Regions from separate parts of the Homo sapiens genome. Here region 2 is linked to region 1. The links are contacts of gene promoters, found by promoter capture Hi-C in human tissues and cell types (Jung and others, 2019). All regions are on one chromosome and are shown on one strand. The core of a region is centred on a gene start or on the middle of the fragment in contact, and the rest is flanking DNA. Distances in the headings are between cores, read along the strand shown.

What was found. Contacts are between HindIII fragments. The study calls those that stand out against the background at their distance.
Region 2: a contact is called between a fragment that was not itself captured here and the fragment with the promoter of MRPL48 in region 1, in 3 of the 25 tissues and cell types used here (IMR-90 fibroblasts, mesenchymal stem cells and spleen).

Annotation. Positions count from the first base shown.
Region 1 is chr11:73,786,233-73,789,307 of GRCh38, forward strand. MRPL48 (mitochondrial ribosomal protein L48) reads left to right here and starts at 1,642. Exons shown (of 8, transcript NM_016055.6): 1 at 1,642-1,760. The coding sequence starts at 1,740. RefSeq lists enhancers at 1,576-1,635, 1,776-1,855. The HindIII fragment of the contact is 15,089 bases long and covers 1-3,075 here.
Region 2 is chr11:73,709,641-73,712,715 of GRCh38, forward strand. All of the region lies in intron 5 of RAB6A (RAB6A, member RAS oncogene family), which reads right to left. Among named protein-coding and RNA genes, the nearest start is that of RAB6A, 50 kb to the right of the region's middle. The HindIII fragment of the contact is 7,101 bases long and covers 1-3,075 here.

The sequences.
Region 1 (3,075 bases), core at 392-2,891:
TTGGGAATCCTTATATCTTCGTACAAAGGACTAACCGTCTCCTTCTTCCTTCTTTTTCCCTTTCCCTTCACCTTACCTACCCCAGAGAGTGTATTAATGCAAAGATGGATTTGTATCTTTTTTTTTTTTTTTTTTTTGGGATGGAGTTTCGTTGTCGCCCAGGCTGGAGTGCAATGGCGCCGTCTCGGCTCACTGCAAGCTCTGCCTCCCGGATTCAGGCAATTCTCCTGCCTCAGGCTCCTGAGTAGCTGGGATTACAGGCATGCACCACTACGCCCAGCTAATTTTTGTATTTTTAGTAGAGACGGAGTTTCACAGTTTTGGTCAGGCTGGTCTCAAACTCCCGACCTTGTGATCCGCCTGCCTTGGCCTCCCAAAGTGCTGGGATTACAGGCATGAGCCACCGCACCCGGCCATGTATCTTATTAGATTGTATTTACCTGGACTAGACAAGGAAAGAAACTCTCTGGCTGCCAACCTGCCCTTTTGCAAACCTATAGTCACAGTCCCATAAAATAGATGAAGCACAGGCACGGAAATGAAACAGCTCACCACTTATATAACATTATGTTAACTAGGTACCTTCTTCCTGTCTCTGTTCCTCATCTGTGAAATGGGTATAATGATCCTCAGCCTCATAGGGTTATTGGAAAGACTAAATGAACCCATACACCCATAAAGAACCGACCTGGCACATACTAGCATTTGATTGATTTTTTTTTTCTTATTTAAAATTTCACTTCTAAAACCCCAATAGCATTTATTAGGCAATAATCAATCACTGTACTGGAGGAGGTATGCCTGGTCCATTATATTTCCAAGCATAATTAATTGTCGTATCTGTGTTACCTCAGTACTTTGCACACAATTCTGGTATTTCACTTACCATACTAGATACTAATTATTTGTTACTAGATACTAATTATTTTTTGCTATTATTTTGATTGAGTTCCTCAAGGACTGAGATCCTGACTAATTTATTCCAGCATCTAGCACAGGACGTGGAAATCTGACTTCTAAACTCAATTTAAGAGATGATTGGCTGGGCCTGGTGGCTCACGCTTGTAATCCCAGCACTTTAGGAGGCCGAGGCGGGCGGATCACCTGAGGTCGGGAGTTCAAGACCAGCCTGACAAACATGGAGAAACCTCATCTCTAGTAAAAATATAAAAATTAGGCGGGCGTGGTGGCGGGCACCTGTAATCCCAGCTACTTGGAGACAGAATTGCTTGAACCCGAGAGGCGGAGGTGGCAGTGAGCTGAGATCGTGCCACTACACTCCAGCCTGCGCAACAGAGCGAGACTCCGTCTCAAACAAACAAAAAAGTCAGATCTGTGCTAGACGCTGAAAGGAATTAATCAGACAGGATCTCAGTCTTTTAAGAACTTTCAAATACAGAGAAGAGGTGGTAACAAATCATTAGTGTATAATATTGTAAGCGAAAAATTAGAATTGTGTGCTAAGTACTGGGGTAACACAGAGATGGTAATTAATTCTTTCTGGAGAAACAGCAGTGAATGTGACAACCTGAGTGAGGGTGGAAAGCAGGAGAATTTCTAGACTCTGAATTTCAGAAGCTTCCGGAACTAAAATGATGTGGAAGTTGAGTGAGTCTCGGTGGGATATTGCTGCTGCACCTGGTCAAGGCCGTTCCTTCAGTGTTTTCAGACGCCCTGGGAACGCGGCTGCAGGGTCCGGTCTTCGGTTTGCACAGCTAGAGGCCGCGCAGCAGCAAAGGATGAGCGGAACCTTGGAAAAGGTAACGTAGATTCCACGCACGCGGGGCGCGGGGAGATGGCGGACGGTGCAGAGAGGGGAGATGGCGGAGGGTGCAGAGCGGGGAGGTGGCGGCGCGCGGACATCCGGGGATGAGACACTGGGGCGCCCAAGGTCCTTCCCAGCAGCACATGCGGCTGCCTGGCGTTGAAGGGGCTGAGCAGATTCCTTTCCACCCGGGGCGAACTCTGCCGAGCCGACCCGTGCCACGCCCACACCACATGCCACTCTCTCCACCCAGTTTCTGGAAAAGGGAGAGCTCTGCGATGGGAATCACGACACCAGGATACGGTCCCGATTAACTGTGTGACCTTGGGCAGGTCATTTTATATTTGCATTCAGTTATCAACTTCCAGAATTTTTTCTAAGAATGCAGTTTTGACTTGCTGAACTGATGAGGATGTGAAGCTACCTGGTAATAAGGAAACAGCAGTAATAAACTAGGTTTTTGTTCTTTTCTTTCTTTTTTTTTTTTTTTTTTTTTTGACGGATTTCGCTCTGTTGCCCAGGCTGGAGTGCAGTGGTGCGATCCCGGCTCACCACAACCTTCGCCTTCCGGGTTCAAGCGATTCTCCTGCCTCAGCCTCCTCAGTAGCTGGGACTACAGGCGCGGGACACCATGCCGGGCTAATTTTTGTATTTTTAGTAGAGACGGGGTTTCACTGTGTTGGCCAGGCTGGTCTCGAATTCCTGACCACGTGATCTGCCCGCCTCGGCCTCCCAAAGTGCCGGGATTACAGGCATGAGCCACCGCGCCCTGCAATAATTAACAACATTTTCGTTTCCAAAACCTTATTTAAGTGACTGTCATAAAACCGTATGAACCACTATAAATGTGTTCCTGGGCTTTCTCCCGTTCCCTTAACAGATTTAACAGATTTCATTTGTGCTCTTTCAATTGTATCATGCTGCTTAGATTAATGACTCATTTTAGCAATTTATATTAAAATTTTGTTTTAGGCATTAATTGTGGCAACTATATTTCCATGATTCATAGGTCAGCATGGTCGTTGCAGCTCATGGGTCTACCTGTGGTTACCTTGGGGCTGCCCTTGAATGTGTGAGGGCCCACGCCTCACTTCATCCTTTATGAAACAATTCACTTGTTCACCTTAGCCAGTTTGTAAGAATTTGGCCAAATATGGTGCCAAGATAATAGAAAAAAAAATCAGAAAGTTTCAAAATTCCATTGTTAAAGATGGTCACACTGGTGACTACACTCCTTGATTTGCCTTGGTTCCAAGAAGGGCTAAAAGGGAGGGATTATTTTTCAAGGAATACTATTTCCAACCATTCGG
Region 2 (3,075 bases), core at 277-2,776, 77 kb before region 1:
TTACATTTTCTGGCCCAGATGCCTAATTTGTCACTTCTTCAAGTAGCCCTGGTTCCTTTGGAAAGAAACCGTATTTACATGTGGTAATGTGGGCTCATTCCTCCTGGTTTAAATCTTTTCAGTAGACAGAGCTAGAAAATATTAAAAATTTTCAAATGCTAAAAAATGTAATGAATTCATGCATATATATACATATATACACATATATATACATATATACATATATACACATATACATACATATATACATATATATACACACACATATATACATATATATACACATATATATACATACACACACACACACATATATATATATTTTTTTTTTTTTTTGAGACGGAGTCTTGCTCTGTCGCCCAGACTGGAGTGAAGTGGCACGATCTCGGCTCACTGCAAGCTCCACCTCCCAGGTTCACGCCATTCTCCCGCCTCAACCTCCGGAGTAGCTGGGATTACAGGCTCCCGCCACCACACCCGGCTAATTTTTTGTGTTTTTTTTTTTTTAGCAGAGACGGGGTTTCACCGTGTTAGCCAGGATGGTCTCGATCTCCGGACCTCGTGATCCACCCGCCTTGGCCTCCCAAAGTGCTGGGATTACAGGCGTGAGCCACCGCGCCCGGCCCCCATGCTTATATTTTTTATATTTAACTTTATTAATCTTATATCTGTATTTCCATCTCCCGTGTCCAAAATGCCAGTTCTCAATCATTAAGCAAAGTATTCATTTATTTTATGCAGAATACAGACAATCATTTTGAAATAACAATATCCAACATCATCACCAACATGTTTACTAAAAACAGTTAAGATCTAGCCGGGTGTGGTGGCTCACACCTGTAATCCCAGCACTTTGGGAGGCCAAGGCGGGTGGATCATTTGAGGTCAGAGTTCAAGACCAGCCTGGCCAACATGATAAAACCCCATCTCTACTAAAAATATGAAAATTAGCTGGGTGTGGCGGTGCATCCCTGTAGTCCCAGCTACTCAGGAGGCTGAAGCAGGAGAATCACTTAAACCCAGGAAGTGGGGGTTGCAGTGAGCCGAGGTTGTGCTATTGCACTCCAGCCTGGGCAACAGAGAGAGACTCAGTCTTGAAAAAAAAAAAGTTAATTTTTTTTTTTTTTTGAGACAAGGTCTTGCTCTGTTGCACATATAAGTGCGGTGGCAGGATTGTAGCTCACTGTAACCTCGAACTCCTGACCTCAAATGATCCTTCTGCCTCAGCTTCCTTTGGGAATAGAGGTGTAAGTCACCATGCCTAGCCCATTTTCTTTAAACTTATAATTTATCTTTCCTTTTTGGCCCTGATTTATAGTTTAACGGCTATACAGGTCCCAGTCCCTCATTTTGGCCACTCATGGGCCCACTAATTGGGACTCAAAGGCTTTCTGCTCAAAGGCATAGATGCAGAGGAGCACACTTCCACTAGGCATGCATTTACCACCTGGTATCTCTGAAGCAGTGGCTTCCCTTCAAACTCTGCGGGCACCACCAGGACTTGAAAGATGGACATACAGCACGGTGGTATGAGGGCTGTATCCTCTACCTCTACCATGCTCTGCCTCTAGGTCCTGCTGAAGCTTCTCCTGGAAGTACTTGATGCTGAGCTCCACAGCAGCAGTCCAGCTGGGATGGCAGCCCAGTAGGGTCCTCATTTTGCTTTAGGTAATGTGTATATACATCTGTATTTCTCTCTTAAGTAAACTGTACCATATGTTACATACTACTTCACCTTGCATTTTTTCACTTAGTCATATACCCTGAAGATTCACTCCATAGTAATATATACATTCTTCATTCCTTTTTGTACCTGTCTAGTACTCCTTTAAAAGGATGTTCGTAAGTTTGTCAAACCATTTTCCTTTTGTGGGCACCTGCGTTGTTTACAGTCTTTAGATATTACAAATAGTGCTAGGTATTACAAATAGTGCTATAGGAAATAGACTTGTACATATGTCTTTTTGTACTCTTACCAGTGTATCTTGAGGAGATTCCTAGAAGTGGGATTTCCAGGTCAAAGGCTAAATGTCGATATTAGATATTGCCAAAAATCAACTCTCTCTCCTCCATAGGAGTATTACCATTCTGCATTGCCTCAGTAATTTATGAGAGTAACTGTTTTCCTTATAGCCTTGCTATCAGAAGATTTCAACAAACTTGGAATTCTGGCAGTCTGAATCTGAGGCAAAAATATTTCTCAGTGCAGTTTCAATCAGTACTTCAGTAAGAGCAAGACAGAGCTTCTTTTCAGATAATTAAGAGCTATGTTACTTTCTCCATGAACCGTTCATATTTCTAGTCAATTTTTCTATAGTGATGTTTATCTTTTTTCTTCTCTATTTTTAGAGGCTTTTTTATTTGGGATATTAGCCATTTTTGATACGATTTACAAATACTTTTCCCTAGTTTGCCATTTGCTTTGTTTATAATGTTTTAAGTAATCAAACTTTACATTTTCCCTTATTTTGTGCCATAGCATTAGTATCATTAAGAACCAGAATTCAGTTAGTCCTTATTTTATTTTCACAATTAAATCTCTAATCCCTTTAGAATTTGTCCTAGTGTAATATGAGAACTTGATCCAATTTTATCTTTTCTATACACTTAACCAGTTACTCCAATCAATTTATTACATAGTTCATTTTCCCCAGTGATTTGAGGTACCACCTTCATACTTATTTTCCATATGAAACTGGGTCTGTTCCTAGCTTTTCCTTTTTTTTTTTTGAGACAGTCTCACTCTGTTAGCCAGGCTGGAGTGCAGTGGCACAATCACAGCTCACGGCAACCTCCACCTCCTGGGCTCAAGCAATTCTCCTGCCTCAGCCTCCTGAGGAGCTGGGATTACAGGCACATGCCACCACGCCCGGCTAATTTTTGTATTTTTAGTAGAGACGAGGTTTCACTAGGTTGGCCAGGCTGGTCTCAAACTCCTGACCTCAGGTAATCCACCTGCCTTGGCCTCCCAAAGTGCTGGGACTACAGGCATGAGCCACCACGCTCGCCTGTTGCTAGCTTTTCTACTCTGTTCTACTTTTCCATAACTTTTCATGCAGCAAGACCACATTGCTT